Linked DNA regions of Homo sapiens: regions 2 and 3 are each linked to region 1. Evidence: promoter capture Hi-C in 16 types of primary human blood cells and fetal thymus (Javierre and others, 2016). All regions are on one chromosome and are shown on one strand. The core of a region is centred on a gene start or on the middle of the fragment in contact, and the rest is flanking DNA. Distances in the headings are between cores, read along the strand shown. Region 1 holds the start of ALDH1A3 (aldehyde dehydrogenase 1 family member A3). Region 2 overlaps ASB7 (ankyrin repeat and SOCS box containing 7). Region 3 overlaps LOC105371024 (a long non-coding RNA gene).

The links. Contacts are between HindIII fragments. The CHiCAGO score rates a contact against its expected background, and 5 or more counts as called.
Region 2: a contact is called between a fragment that was not itself captured here and the fragment with the promoter of ALDH1A3 in region 1, in 5 of 17 cell types (M1 macrophages, endothelial precursors, M2 macrophages and 2 more). The highest score is 11.7, in M1 macrophages.
Region 3: a fragment that was not itself captured here is called in contact with the fragment with the promoter of ALDH1A3 in region 1 in 1 of 17 cell types (endothelial precursors); the score reaches 6.9 in endothelial precursors.

The regions. Positions count from the first base shown.
Region 1 is chr15:100,877,648-100,882,596 of GRCh38, reverse strand. ALDH1A3 (aldehyde dehydrogenase 1 family member A3) reads right to left here and starts at 2,766. Exons shown (of 13, transcript NM_000693.4): 1 at 2,591-2,766. The coding sequence starts at 2,689. LOC124903575 (collagen alpha-1(I) chain-like) reads left to right here and starts at 2,794. Exons shown (of 1, transcript XM_047433433.1): 1 at 2,794-3,651. The coding sequence starts at 2,794. The coding sequence ends at 3,576. RefSeq lists an enhancer at 1,720-2,234 and a silencer at 2,726-2,845. The HindIII fragment of the contact is 4,913 bases long and covers 1-4,039 here.
Region 2 is chr15:100,643,809-100,648,757 of GRCh38, reverse strand. It overlaps ASB7 (ankyrin repeat and SOCS box containing 7), which reads right to left. Exons shown (of 6, transcript NM_198243.3): 6 at 1-435. The coding sequence ends at 296. It also overlaps the pseudogene WDR12P2. Among named protein-coding and RNA genes, the nearest start is that of ASB7, 44 kb to the right of the region's middle. The HindIII fragment of the contact is 358 bases long and covers 1,767-2,124 here.
Region 3 is chr15:100,721,239-100,726,187 of GRCh38, reverse strand. All of the region lies in intron 1 of LOC105371024 (a long non-coding RNA gene), which reads right to left. Among named protein-coding and RNA genes, the nearest start is that of ASB7, 120 kb to the right of the region's middle. RefSeq lists an enhancer at 3,190-4,389. The HindIII fragment of the contact is 4,853 bases long and covers 23-4,875 here.

The sequences.
Region 1 (4,949 bases), core at 1,517-4,016:
GACAGTCATACAAGTGAATCCTATTGATGCCGATTTCCCGTAACTTCCATCTGACAACAGGCCACTCAGCTAAACTCAAAAAGAATATGTTTTCAGAAAAGGAGATTTGGGGGAATTTTATTTTTCATAAGAGAGATAATAAAAACCGGTGTTTTAAAAATCAGAAAACTTTGAAGAGAATCCCTGCTACTGGAAGAAATTTTATAAGGAAAGAAAGAGGCCCTCTAAATTAGAAGGGACTTCTATCCTCTGAGATCTGTGTGGGGACCCTGGAGGGGCTCTCAGCTCTCCAGAATCACACAGCATGACCCTAGAGAATGAAATGTTAACATGTGAGGACAAATGAAGGGGCTTTGACAAAGTCATCCTGAAAGTTGGACCACCCTGGGAAATGGCACTGCCGGGGCTAGGGCTCAGATGGACCAACTCTGGTGTGTGCCCCATTATCGAGAAGCACCATGAGTCAATTTTGGAAAATAGCAGACCACTGCTGGCTCCCATGCTCCACCGTCTGCTCTCCTGCCAGGCCACCCACCTGCCGGGCCACTCGCCCACTCTGGGCCTCAGTCCTGCACTTCAGTTTATCCCGCTCCTTCCCTCGGCAGGCACTCTTGGTGGCCTCACTCTCGGCCGCCTCTCCAGTCCAGTCTCCCTGAGGACTGTGCCAGGGCACTGGTTGGCCACCCTCAGCCACACAAGCTGCCTGGGTCCACAACTGCTATGGGGAGGTCTCTGCAGAGATGGGCCAGGAGCCAGGACAGAGCAGGCAGCAGCACAGTCCCCCAACGGGTGAGGAGCCAGCAGCCGGTGTCAGGCAGTTGGGGCCTTTATCGCCTGGGAGACCACTCAAGATCCCAGCACTCCAGGCCGATCCACCAGCTTCCCTCAGCCTCATTCCTGCACTGGTTCCCTTTAACTGGCAAAGGTTGCGCACCCACCAAGACAACAGGCAACCATTGCTCTGTGAATTGTCTAAGGTCTCCATAAGGGCTACATCTACACTTTAAAAGTGTCCTAAAAATCATAGAGAAAGAGGTAAACTTTTTGTATGTGGTCAGATTGCTGATAGGACTCAAAAACATAAAAAGTAAAAGGACCATAATACATTTACTGTCTGGTTTCTATATACAGTATTTTGAAATCCTGTACAACCAAAAGAAAACAAACAACCTCCCCACTTAACCATCAGTAGCAGCAGCCAAGCACCTGGGGTTAGGGTCTTACAAAATTCGGGTACCATTTTCACTCTTCCCAGAATTCGTGTTGGAATTTTCACTCTGAAGCTGATATTACAAATAAAACTACATTAAGAATAATTTCCAGCGTTTAGTTTACAGCGACGTGTCTTTGTTGATTACAGAGCCTTCTGAAAACAGTTAATTTAAATGTCTTGTGATCAGAGGCTCAGCCGACATTGGGAATTAAGTGCCAAGAGACCCAAATCTGAAGGCCACACATAGTGCCCTGCAACTTTCTCCGCTTGATTAAAATTCTTTGAGAAAGATAATTGCTACTTCTTAAAGTAAAACGGATGAGGAAATTCTCTAAGTGCGGTGTCAGCTGGAGTTGGGGGCTATGGGTAAAAGCAAAAATCAAGAGAAGCCAAAGGTGGGGAAAGTTAAGGCAATGGCTCTCGGCCTGGCCTGTGCCTCTAAAGTGCCCCAGCACCGGCCCACGACAGACGCGCACGCCAGACAGCCTGGGGGTGTCCTCCATCGGGTCGCGCTCCCGGACCCGGGTCTCTCGGCCCTCCTCAGCCCCAGCTCAGAGGCCTCGGAGGCCTCACCATCTTCTTTTATTCCTTTCTGCCCCGGGCAGGTAATCTCGCCGTTCTGCCAACGCTGTAGCCTCCCAGCCCACAGAGCGAGGAGGCAGAGAACCGTGCGCTTCTGCGGCCTCGCGACCCACCGCTTCCCAAAGGCCCAGGTCTGCGACCTTCCGGAGCGCGCGCCTTGTGTGTAAACACCGGGACCTCTGGGCTCCGGGGAGGTTTCGTCAGTAAGCGAGCACCTTCCTACTCCTCCTCGTTCTGCTGCTGAGCCGGGTATAAACTAAGCACGGAAGGCGCCCGCTGCGCTTTGCTCGGAGGACCCGCTTCCCCAGTCTTCCAACTGCAGCTCCGCCATCTGCCTCCCGGACTCTCTCTTGGCGCTCTCGGACCCTCCGACCCTCTCAAAGCCAGACTCGTCCACCCTGGAAATCATCGCAGGGGTTTTTGGGGAGGGAGCTCCCCAAAACCAGCGCGCTCCGAGTCAACGCGGCGCGCACCTCCACTCGCGATCAAAGCGGGCAGCGCAGGGACACGTCGGGGCCTCGCAGGGATGCGGGCGGCCCGGCCCCGCGCGGGCGCTGGACGGCCTCGGTTTCCCGGCTTCGAGGCTCACAGCGCCGAGCCCCGCCGCCTGCGATCCCGCCCGAGACGTCCCGCGAAAGGTGCGGTTTCTGGAGAGCCGCGCCCGGGCAGGGAGGCTCGGGTCTCGGCGGCGCCCGGCGGACCCCCGGCCCGCTGCTCCCTCGCCCCCGCCGCCCCGAGTCTGGCTGCCCAGCGCAGGGGCCCGCGGCCGTCGGGTGGGAGGGGCGCCCGCCTCACCTTGGTGAACTTGACCTCCAGGTTGCGGATGGGGCGCGGCAGGGCCGGCGGCTTCCTGTCCGGCTGCCCGTTTTCCACGGCCCCGTTAGCGGTGGCCATGGCTCCTCCGCGCTCCCTGGCCCGAGGCGCCCTAGTCTGCGGCGCACCGGCTCGGCCCGGACACTGCGCAGCCCGCTCCCGGGGTGGCAGCTCCCCGCCGCTTTATGCAGCGCCCCACGCCTCCCGCCCGAGGGGGCCGCCTAATTGGCTGCGGGACCGGAGGAAGGGAGGGCGGGCTGCGGGAGGGAGGAGAGGGGAGGGCGGCCGGCCCGCCTCACCCCGCCCCGCCCGCCGCCCCTGCGGGAGCCCGAGCGCCGGCGGCTCCACCCGCGTGCCGCGGACCGTCCCGGCGCCCGCGCCGCGCGCTCTCTCGCCCCGGAGGCTGCCTGTGGACGAGCTCCCCGAGGAGCCGCCGGGCCCCGGAAGTCGCAGGGCTGGGACACCCGACCCGGCAGGGAGCTGAGCCGCGGGGCCACGGCGCCCCGCTGCCTCCCCGAAGTCGGGCGGGCTCCCCGCGCGGCACATGCAGCCCACTCCCAGCCGCCGCACGGCGCGCTCGCCCGACTTCGGCCGGCTCGCGGCGCTCGGGAATGCGCGCTCTCCGCCGGGCCCTGCGCCGCGCCCGGGTCGGGGCTCCTGGCGGGGCCGCCCCGCGTCGCTGCGCACGTGCCCTGCTCTTGGGTCCAGCCGCCCGATCCCCGCTAGCAGGACAGACGCCCGCTGCGCCCCACCCTGCCCGAGCGCGGACAGCCGGCGGGCGCACCCCGGCCCAGCCGGCCTGGAGTCTCCCCGGGGCCCTGGGGCTTCGCCCGCGGTGGGGCAGAAGGCGAAAGCAAAGCGCCGGACCCGGGCGGCTCTCCGCCGAGGAGCCCTGGCGCCGCTGGGCCTCTGACCTTCGCAGGCGCACACCGCCTTCCATCCCAGAGCCCGGGGGGCAATTGATCTGATTTTTTAAATGCATAAATTATACCTCGATTAAAAAATGATAATTAAAAAAAAGCACATGAGACCTTTGCTGCTAATCGTTTTAAGAGTTTAAATTCTTGTCGCGCATTACTTCCCAGGAGGGGGAGGTAAGTCTAGCTCCTCTCCTTTTGCGATTTGGGAAACGCTCCATCAACTCCCAGGACTTGACCCAGGCCCCATCTGAGACACGGAAGCGGCTTCTGATGCATGCCATTCCTCAGGTCGCTGGAACAAAGACCGGAGGCACGGACTCCTGACAAAAGCTGTGCTTTAATCCTCAGATAGGCTCAGCCCCTTCAGTTCATCTCTTTCTGTAGGTAACCCCAAGTAATCAACAATGGGGAGGGGTCTCCTTATTTTCCTGTTTTGAGGCCTCCGTGTCCATCTCTCTGTCCCCTGGTGTCCTTCTGGATAGAGCTGGATAGAGGGGTAAGTTTTGAAGCTTTTGGAAACCCCACATCTGACCCTTACCCTGGGGTTGTGGAAAGGTCTTGTGCTGTTATGGCCTGGAGTGCACAGCTGAGGCCGGGGAAAGGGGATAATGGACCCTCGAGCGGGGCAGCCTTGACCGATATCGGCTGGCTAACACTGGCGAGTCTGAGCAATGCCAGCTCTTTCCTCAGCTGCTTCTGCAAATCCGGGGCTCCCTGCCCTCTTGGCTGGCCCCATGGCTCCCACTCAGATCTCCTGAAAACATCTGGGCAGATGTGCTATGCCACGGCCCCCGGCTGGGTGCTGAGCCCTAGCGTTTGGGTGCCTGAGCCCAAGAGGACCGTCAGGGAGTAGTGACAAACCCCTCCTGCATGGATGGAGGCCAGGGGCCCAAGGCCAGTGTGTGCAGCAGGCCCCAGGAAGCTGCAACTAGAGATGCTTTACAAACTGAACTCCCATCCTGAGACTTTATCGGGGGTCCTTGATGGTTGAAATTATGTCACTGCCAGGATTTTAAAAAAAAATCTGAAATAAAATTTATAGAGGAAACTGTGTTAATTAAATAATTGCTGGATTGATGGGGGAGGCAAATGGGGTTGAGCTTAGAACTCTGCTCCTTTAGGGAAGATAGTCGAGCCTGTTTGGTCAAAGATAGACAGTCACCACTTTGTTGGCTATGAAGTCAGGAATGAAAGCCACCTCACCTCACACTCAGACATCCTTGTGACCCGAGGCGTCTGGTCTCAGGAGCCAGTTGCAAAGATGCCGACTGGCTCACCTGCAGCTCCTCCGTTTGATACCCACGTGATCCTGGGAGCCTGAGATCAGACTGGAGCACTCAGCCATAGACTTTGTCACAGTAGGTGGCTCCCAGAGAGCAGGTCAGGAGGATGGGCCTAGCTCTGGGCTTGTCCAGACAAGC
Region 2 (4,949 bases), core at 696-3,195, 230 kb after region 1:
TTAAGAAAAGACAATTTTTCTAAATGCAGTATTGTATACAAAGCTTGGACCTCTTAAACTTGGACCAAGAAACCAAATTAAGACCTTCAAGCATGTGGTGTGTGTTTTTATATATATATAAAAAATCCCTCCCCTACAATGAAAACCAACCAAACAAACAGAAAACCCAAAAGTGTATACCTGCTTTCTGATTTCACAGCAAATCAGAAATTGCATAGGATATACTTTGTGCAAGGCAAAAAGCCTTTTAAGTATCTAGAATAGAACTCCTAATCTTGCTCACAGTTCTGGCATATCAGATATCATCAAATTTGTGTTTTAAGTAGTCTTTCATGACCTTGGCAATTGGTAGTTCATCAAGTAGCTTTAGGTTTTGAAGGCCTATACATTGTCGAATTTTAATTCGGCACAGGTCCTGCAAGTTTCTGGGCTGTCCTAAAAAGACAGAAAAAAGAAAATGTTACAAAGCCACAAAGCACAATATTTAAGGCACTTTTGAAAAGAACTGTTCATTTCCCTGGAAGTTCTCTCTATGGACTTGACATGCAAAGGACCGGAAAGATACCAACTCAAAGTGTCCTAGGACCTTCATGCGATGCCTTATTTGATCCTTTTCACAACCGTGGGATGGTGGATATTTTCAACTCCATTTTACCAATAAGAAAACTGAGTATCAGATGTAAACAAGTTGCTTAATATCAGACAACCAATTAAGGCTTTCAACTGAGACCAAAAACAGTTTTGATTCTAAGCCTCATATCCTTTCTGTTATAAATCAGGAAAATTCTGGTTCTCGTCCTGACTAGGTCTCTCTCACGCTGGGTGAGCCACTGTGAGCCAATCATTCCTCTGAGCCTTGGCTTCTCAATCTGAAAAGTGTGGGGACTGAAAGAGATGTCCCCTATTGTGAGCCTCCCTTTCAGCTCTGGGTCTAGGACACTGGAGCCCGGACACCCACCACGGTCTCTGTGGAGCTTTCCAAACAAGCTTTCCAGATCTGCTCACCTGTTTTCCGTGATTCTGAACACAGCAGAACCTTGGTTGTAAGGCTGACAGTTGAGGAGTGCAGCAGAAGGGGGTGTGAAAAAGCGCCTCAAGGTATTCTGAATCTACATCGCTTCAAGCTTCCACACCCTGATCACTTGCCAATAAAAACCCGTTATATCTCAATTCAAAAGAAAAATCACAAAATCCTATTTCTTTCCCTTTGGAATATTTTGTTTTACAAAAACAATACAGATGGCTCCAAAAACAAGGAAGAATTCTTCAACTGTGCTTCAGTAGTGTTTGGAGTCAAGGAAGTTTTGCTTTCATATTAAACATGATAATAAAGCTAATATATATTGAATACTTACTCTGCGCCATGTATTGTTAAGAGCTCATGACATGTATTAACTCCTTTCATCCTTTTACGAGGGAAGTACTTTGATCATCATCCCCATTTTATAGAGTCTCAGAGAGATTAAGTAACATGCTTAAAGTCAAGTTGAATGCCATTTTTCAGTCATTCTCAAACTTTTTGTTTTCAAAACTCCTTTACACTTTAAAAAATTATTGCGAACCCCCAGAAACTTTTATGTGGGCTATCTCTATAGTAAATGCCATATTATAAGTTAAAACAGACATTTTAGAAATACTTTTAAATTCATTCTAATAAACCATTACATGTTAACATAAATAACACATCATTATGAAAAGTAACTATATTTTCCAAAACCAAAAAAAAATTTAACAAGAACGTCATTCTTTCACATTTTTGCAAAGCTTTTAATGTATGGTTTAATAGATGATAGCTGAATTTTCATATATGCTTCTGAATTCAATCTGTTGAGATAAGTCACATCAATCACACCACCTCGTCTCTGGAAAAAACTGACACTCATGATAAAAGGAATGAGAGAAAGGCAAATCATGTCTCAGTGTTATTATGAAAATCAGGAGGAGACCCATGGAGAGAAAACAGAGTCCGGGATTACACCGCAACTTCTCGCTTACCTGTGCAGTGTAATTTTGAGCTGTCTCTTTGTAGTCCTAAGAGACAGGAGCTCCCGTTCTCAGCCTACTAACCCATAACTGTGGGCAAGTCGTGTACACTCCCTGACATGGCTCAGCTGCAAACAAGCTTCTACACTGATCACAAGAAATAGGCCATCAATGATGTTGCCTTCTCAATCCCTGCTGTCTCTTAAAGTGTTGACCTTAGTAACATCATCAATTAATTACTAAAGGGCAGAAATGAGTTCCACAAATATGTGGAGTTTGATTTCCTTATTAAGGGTCAGTTTCTGTGAATGCCCTTGGTCAAACACATGGAACGGGAGAACACCTCCTTAAAAGAAGTTGTGGAAAGAGAATACGCGGAGAAGTACACCGCACCCCAACCAGAATGAAGTGTCCTTGATGAGTGGACCAGTTCAATTCAAGGGACAGAGGTATGGATCTTGACTGGTTCTTATGATGAGACTTCTCGAATCTGGTCCTTGGAAGGAAAGTCAACATTGACAATTGTGGGACACATGGATATTGTTAACAGATGTGGCCTGGGTGACAAAAGACAGTTTGTGTTACTATTGAGTGGCTCTATGGATCAGACTATTCTCTTATGGGAGTGGAATGTCCAGAGAAACAAAGTGAAAACCCTATGCTGCTGCCCAAGTGTAGATTCCACAGCTATTGATAGCTCAGGAACTAAATTTTGCAGTGGCTCCTGAGATAAGATGCTAAGGATCTGGTCTACTGTCCCTACAGAAGAAGATGAAATGGAGGAATCCACAAACTGACCAAGAAAGAAACAGAAAACAGAGCAGTTGGGACTAACAAGGACTCCCATAGTGACCTTCTCTGGCCACAAGGAAGCAATCTCCTCAGTGCTGTGGTCAGATGCTGAAGAAATCTGCAGCGTATCTTGGGACCATGAAATTAGCGTGTGGGATGTCGCGTTTGGCAATCTTAAGTCAACTTTACAGGAAATAAAGTGTTTAATTGTATTTCCTATTCTCCACTTTGTAAATGTTTAGCATCTGGAAGCACAGATAGGCATATCAGACTGTGGGATCCCCAAACTAAAGATGGTTCTTTCGTGTTGCCGTCCCTAACCTCACATACAGGTTGGGAGACATCAGTAAAACGGTCTCCTACCCATGAACCACAGCAGATTTCAGGATCCTTATATAACACCGTCAAGCTGTGGGATTCAAGAAGTTGTAAGGCTCCTCTCTATGATGTGGCTGCTCATGAAGAGAAAGTTCTGAGAGCAGACTAGACAGACACAGGGCTCCTTCCGAGTGGAGGAGCAGATAATAAACTGTATTCCTACAGATATTCCGGGGGGCATGAACTCGAATGATAATTTGATTATAGAGATTCTTTCTATAAATGAAAATTGGTAGAGAATCATGAAATTACATTGATGCAGATGCAGAAAGCAGCCTTTTGAAGTTTATATAAAGTTTTCACCCTTCATAACACCTAACATATCACTGTCTTTTCTTATTTTGTATTTATAATACAAAAGTTCGTGTTTATAAAACAGAAACTGTGGCTTGCATTCTCTATTTAAAAAAGAAAAAAAGGGAAGAAATCATTTTGACCTCACAGTTACCCTAAAAGGGTCTTGGGGACTCCAGGGCCCACTAGACCATACTTGGAAAACTATTCTTGTACTTTATCCCTCATATCCATTGTACTTGCTTACAGTGATCACCGTTATTCAAAAGGAAGTACTTCTTCATAAATGACAAAGGCTGACTTAGACCTCTGCTCTGTAAGGCCTGTATGAACATACGCTTTTCGAGAGGTTACTTGCTATGTGGTCTCTTAACAGAATGGCAGCAGAAGTGACAGCTTTCTTGGAAATGTCTGTAAACTAGGAGTATGTGTATCCACAGATGTCTGTACATGGATCTGTACAGGGATGTGACACACACACACTCATGTGCCTCTTGGGAAGATTATGTCTCCTCCACCTTTCAGATCTCTGCCAAAATAGCACTTCATCACAGGAGACTATGTCAGGATTCACCATCAGATACTCCCAGAGTTCCTCTCCTTTATAACATTTAATAAGGTTGTGAGTTCACATTTATTTGGTGATTACGTGTTAATTAATGCCCATCTTCCTCACTATATGACATGCTCCATGAGGGGAGGACCATGTCTGGCCCCATTTGCCAATGTAAACCCAACTGCTGACACGGTACTCGGCGAATATGAGTTGAATGAATGCTTAATAGGCTTGTCCTTAAAGTATAAAACAGTCAACGTGCTGCAAAACACACTCAGGTCAACAGCAAATCATTTCCAAGCCTGTTTTGAATTATTTTTCAACACTATTCATGGGCTACTTTAGGAAAAGAATAAATTATCATTGTCATTTTTCAGTAAATGCTTACAGTATTTGATCTGCAAATGCAAACTGGAATGTGAATTACATGTGAATCTTCTTTCTTTAAAGAATTTGATTTTCCTAATAGATGACGGGCTCTTTTTAAGTATTATTTACTTATTTATTGCAATGCAGTCTCACTGTATTGCCCAGGCTGGAGTGCAGTGGTGCAATCTCAATTCACTGCAACCTCCATCTCCCAAGTTCAAGCTATTCTCATGCCTCAGCCTCCCGAGTAGCTGGGATTATAGGCGTGTGCCACCACGCCCAGCTAACTTTTGTATTTTTAGTAGAGATGGGGTCTCACCATGTTGGTCAGGCTGGTCTCAAACTCCTGGCCTCAGGTGATCCAGCTGCCTCAGCCTCCCAAAGTGCTGGGATTAAGGGCATGAGCCGCCATGCCAGGCCCTTTTTAATATTAATAAAAAGAACCACCATAACATATTCAGGCAAAAAACAGAAGAGGAAAGAGTTGACGTATGTGTATACAGGCATACTTAAATGAAAACGTATCATCCAAAATAGTGGTAAAAACTAAATTACTAGAATTTGCTTAGCTAAGGTA
Region 3 (4,949 bases), core at 1,200-3,699, 160 kb after region 1:
CCCTCTGCCTACTTCCCAAGCTTAGAGTCCGCAGGAGGCCTGGGAGGCCACAGTGCCCAAATGGAACCAGGTATAGGCTACTTCCCTCTGATTGCTTTCAAGAAATCTGTGACCTCTGATCCATTCTGGGCTGGCCTCATTTAGGAGGTCAAGTTTCATGTCCCTTTTAGGAACAACCATGAGTCCCAGGCTGCCTCTGGCCCCTCCTGGCTTCTCTTCCTTCTGCAAGCATCCCTTGACAGAAGCTGGTGGAAAGCAGCTTGTCTGTTCTTGTGGGGCAGCCTCCAGGCATGGCTGCTTCAGCAGGGGCTCCACTTGCCCCTGTTAGCAGCTCCCCACACCCCCGATCCCATTCCCCTTAACCCAAAACTTCAGGAGCTCTGGGTTTACTCAGTCCAAAGGGGTCAGCCCTGTGCCACTGGAGTGTCTCCAGCCCACCTGTGGCCTTGGCCTCTGTGGCTATGTCCCCAAGGTGCAACAGAAGAGGCCGAAACGTTCTACAGAGTTCACTGCATGGTACCACGCACTGCAGTGATGACCTTGAGGATCCAGGCCCAAGAACAGGTGGAGGGGCACCCAGGGCTCAGGTCCATGTGATTCACTCAGGCTCAGCCATTGTTGCAAAGTCCCTCCAGGCCAGCTTAGCTTCCCGCCTGTACCTTTGTAGTCATGCTACAGCGTGGAAATACATGTGAACATGGCATGGTCTTTGGTCAGTGAACACACTGCTCCGGGGTCTCCCTGTGCACACTGCTACACTCTGTTTCCCATCTCTTGTTCAGTTCAGAGCAGCTGCATGTCTGACTTCCAACAAAGGAATGTGGGGAAAATGACGGGAGCCACCTCCAAACCATCCATGAAAACCTCCCACACAAGACTCCATGACCTCTCTCCATCTGCCTGCTGAATAGGGAAGCCCCTGAGGACTAGAGAGGGCAGGGCACAGGACAGAAGCACCGCGGGTCCCTTCCCTGGGTTGCCACTGAATAAGAGCCACCTGGGAGAGCCTTCCAGCCCAGCCAGGATCCCCCATGTGGGACCACTGCATCAGTGAAAAGAAAATTCCAGTGCTTTAAGCCAGGGGTCAGCCAACTGCAGACTGCAGGCCAAATCCAGCCGCCTGCCTGTTTTTGTATGGACTTTTGTATGTGAGCTCAAAATGGGTTTTATGGGTTTTTTTGTTTGTTTGTTTTTGTTTGTTTTGTTTTTTTTGAGACAAAGTCTTGCTCTGTTGCCCAGGCTGGAGTGCAGAGGCCCGATCTCAGCTCACTGCAACCTCCACCTCCCAGGTTCAAGCGATTCTCCTGCCTCAGCCTCCCAAGTAGCTGGGATTTCAGGCCTGCGCCACCACGCTTGGATAATTTTTGTATTTTTAGTAGAGACGGGGTTTCATCATGTTCATCAGGCTGGTCTTGAATTCCTGACATCGTGATCCACCCGCCTCAGCCTCCCAAAGTGCTGGGATTACAGGCGTGAGCCACCGCGCCCGGCCAGGTTTTATGTTTTAAAAAAGGATTTAAAGAATAGGATTTTGTGACACAGGAAAATTATATGAAATTCAAATTTCAGTGCCCTTACATAAAGTTTGATTGGAGCACAGTCACGCCAGTTCATTTACATCCCATCTGTGGCTGCTTTCACAGGACAACAGCAGCGGTGAGAGTTGCAAGACCGTATGGCCTGCAAAGCCTAAAAGTATTTCCCCCCAGTCCATACAGAGAGTTTGCCAACCCCTGCTTTCTTCTGTCACTAGGATTTGAGGGTTGTTTGTTACAGAAGTGAGCTTATCCTGGCTAACACAATTAAGTGACATGATAAATATTTTTTTTTTTTTGAGATGGAGTCTCACTCTATTGCCCAGGCTGGAGTGCAGTGGCACTATCTCGGCTCACTGCAACCTCCGCCTCCCGAACTCAAGCGATTCTCCTGCCTCAGCCTCCTGAGTAGCTGGGATTACAGGTGCCTGCCACCACACCCAGCTAATTTTTGTATTTTTCGTAGAGATGAGGTTTCACCACATTGACCAGGCTGGTCTTAAACTCCTGACCTTAAGTGATCCACCTGCCTTGGCCTCCCAAAGTGCTGGGATTACAGGCATGAGCCACCATGCCCAGCCATGATGAAGATTTTTAAGACTTTGAGATGTAGGGCAAAATTGCCTTTTGGAGGATTATGTTAACTTATACACTCCCACCAAGACTTATGAGCAGGACAATTGCCCCACTCTTTTGCCAATCCTGGGCATGTGACATACCCTCACTAGAAAACAAGAATAATGATTCCACCTGCCTAGGGCTATGGGGGAGCCGAAATGAAATAGTCTGTGACATAGTAGGTGCCCAGTAAATATCACTATTGACCTTTGGGTGCTGAGAGGTCCTTCTCACAAGAGTGAGATCATAATACATGGATGTTTTTGATGCCTAAGTCTGGCCCCACAAGGAGGATCTTCTGATGCGTCAGGCGCATTGCTTTGAGAATGTCTGTGGATGGTACTCTCTCCTTCTGATGCCCATGTCATTAAGTGGCCCTGTGACGATATCAGAACTGCCTGTTCTTTTCTTTATTTCTTGGGTTTGCACAACTCATCCAGGCTGTTAGAAGTGGAATGCGATTAGATGAGGAAAAGAAAAAAAAAAGCCCTGAGCACTTCTGCCAAGGAGAATTATACAGGTACTAGATCAGCACTCTACTCTGATAGAATGAGGAAACCCAAAGGCAAATTGGCACAGCCCTTTAAAAAACAAAGAGCGCTGTGTCCCCTTTGAAAATTCCTGCTGGTGATATGGCCAAGAAGAATTCGGGAAGATGAGAGGCAGTGACCAGACCACCTGAATTCCAGCACACTCCCTGGTTAAGAACTAATGGAAGTAAGGAAACTATTTTTGGAAGCTGGTTAAATATAAAAAGCAGAGACATGGATGGAAATTATATCAGACGACATCCACCATGCTCTCAGGAAAGTAAAAAGGAGAAAGGGGAGAGGGTAGAGGCAGTGTGACATGCTGCAGCCAGCACCCATGGTCCACAGGGCCCAGCTGTTAAATATTTAAGAACTTCGTGAACCTGTTGTTTAACTGTTGGGAAATTAAAGTCAGCCATGGTGGAAGTATGTACACCACAGAAATTGGCAAAAGCCACAGATCAGGGCTTTGTGACTTTTTTCCCCAGAGTTCCAATTTACCAATACACCCCTGGGTAGAGGGAGAAGAGGGGAATGAAGGCAATGTTCCATCAGGAAAGGAGCCTCAACTCAGAGGAGGAGAAGCAGCAAAAAGGAAGAGCAATAACCTTAGTTTTTTTTTTCCCTTAGGGAAAATTTTCAGATATGGCCCAGACGGGTTAAGTGACTTGCCCAAAGTTACACAGCTAAGAAGTTTTAGAGCTAGAATTTGAACCCAAGTATTTCTGGTAATGATGATTTCTTTCAGTTTCTTTTTTCTTTCACTATCTCAACAACTGATTAATGAATTAATGAAAAGGAGTCACCTGTTTGAAAAAAGTGTCTTTAGGGTCAGCTGCCTGAAAAATTCTGAATTCATGGGTTAGAATCACATGTTTGCTTTTGGCTTGGTTACCAATGGCTTTGTTTTCACAAACCAAATACACTCTCAAAGGACCCAAATTTGCTATCTTTAAGGATTTTCTGTATGACTAATCCTGCATGTATAATCCTGGAAGCCAGTTCCAAAGATTGGTTTTGAGAATGCTTTGGTGTTATCTCCTGAGTAATGAGTAATCTCTCAAGAAGTCCAAGTGCAAAAAGAAACACTCGCTTAGAGGCCAAATTCCAGGTATAGTCACTGGATCAAGGGACAAGATGGCGAGTTTGAAGCGGGGGCCTACCATCTACTGGCTCTCTCACACTTCTTAAAGGACCCATTGGCTGGTGTCAGGGAGGTCGGGGAAGGAAGTTAAGGAGAGCTGGAAACATCCCAGGCTTCTGTTTGCATTTCTTTGGCAAGGGGTTGCCACTTGTGTGGACAAGTATTATTAGGATGACCTACCTTGATTTAGCTAGTCAGGATAAATAAAAAACCTTCTTGGTTTTCATAAATACTGTGGCATTTTACAGTCATGACTCAGTGCTTCATCTGCAATCAAGATTCAGACACCAATGACCAATGGTTGGAAGTGATGATTCATTCAAACAGCACATTGATTTTGCAATAGACCGTGGAACTCTGTCCACATAAAACTCATTGTATTTCCCTGTCAGAACTCAGAGTCGTCAAGGCAACCTAGTCCTGCATGCCAACTCGTTCTGGTCCGTGTTCACGTTTTGTGCTCACGGTCCTGTTCCTGTCGGTTTGAGGAGTGGAAAGTTCCCTGACATCAGCACTGCTAGCTCGTCCTCTTCAGGGGCTGATACTGCAGCTGGCTGACTCTTGACAGCAGGTGGTTCTCCCCATTTGGGCAGGGCTTATGTTCTGCAAGGTTTATTAGGGCCAATTAGCTCCTCAGAAGGGTATTGCAAAAATAAAGTAAATTCAGGAGCTACCTCCCTTCAAATGGACACTGCTCTACCAACAAGCTATGGCACATCGAGGGCAGCGGCGTTAAATTCTCAGCCTTCAAGACACAGCCTGCAGCCCGCCCTCCTTTCCCCAGCAGCTCCTGGGAGCATCCCGGCCACGTGGACATGGCAGGCTGGGAAGACCCAACGATGGGGCACTATGCCATGTGTAAAGGGGATAACTAGCTTGGAATTACCCACTTACCGTATCCAATCTAACTTGGATAACTGTGAGAAATCGTATTCAACAATACTATTTACATATTGAAACTGTCTCAATAATTTGTAGATACTCATCTTTTCTGGAATGTTCATGAGTAATTTGTCTCAGTATCTCTATGTAACTGAGACAGAAAGCTTGGCTCTACCCATGAAAGAATTAGTCACTTACATAAATAAGGATACAAACGGCTTGAGGAAATAGATTCTGTGA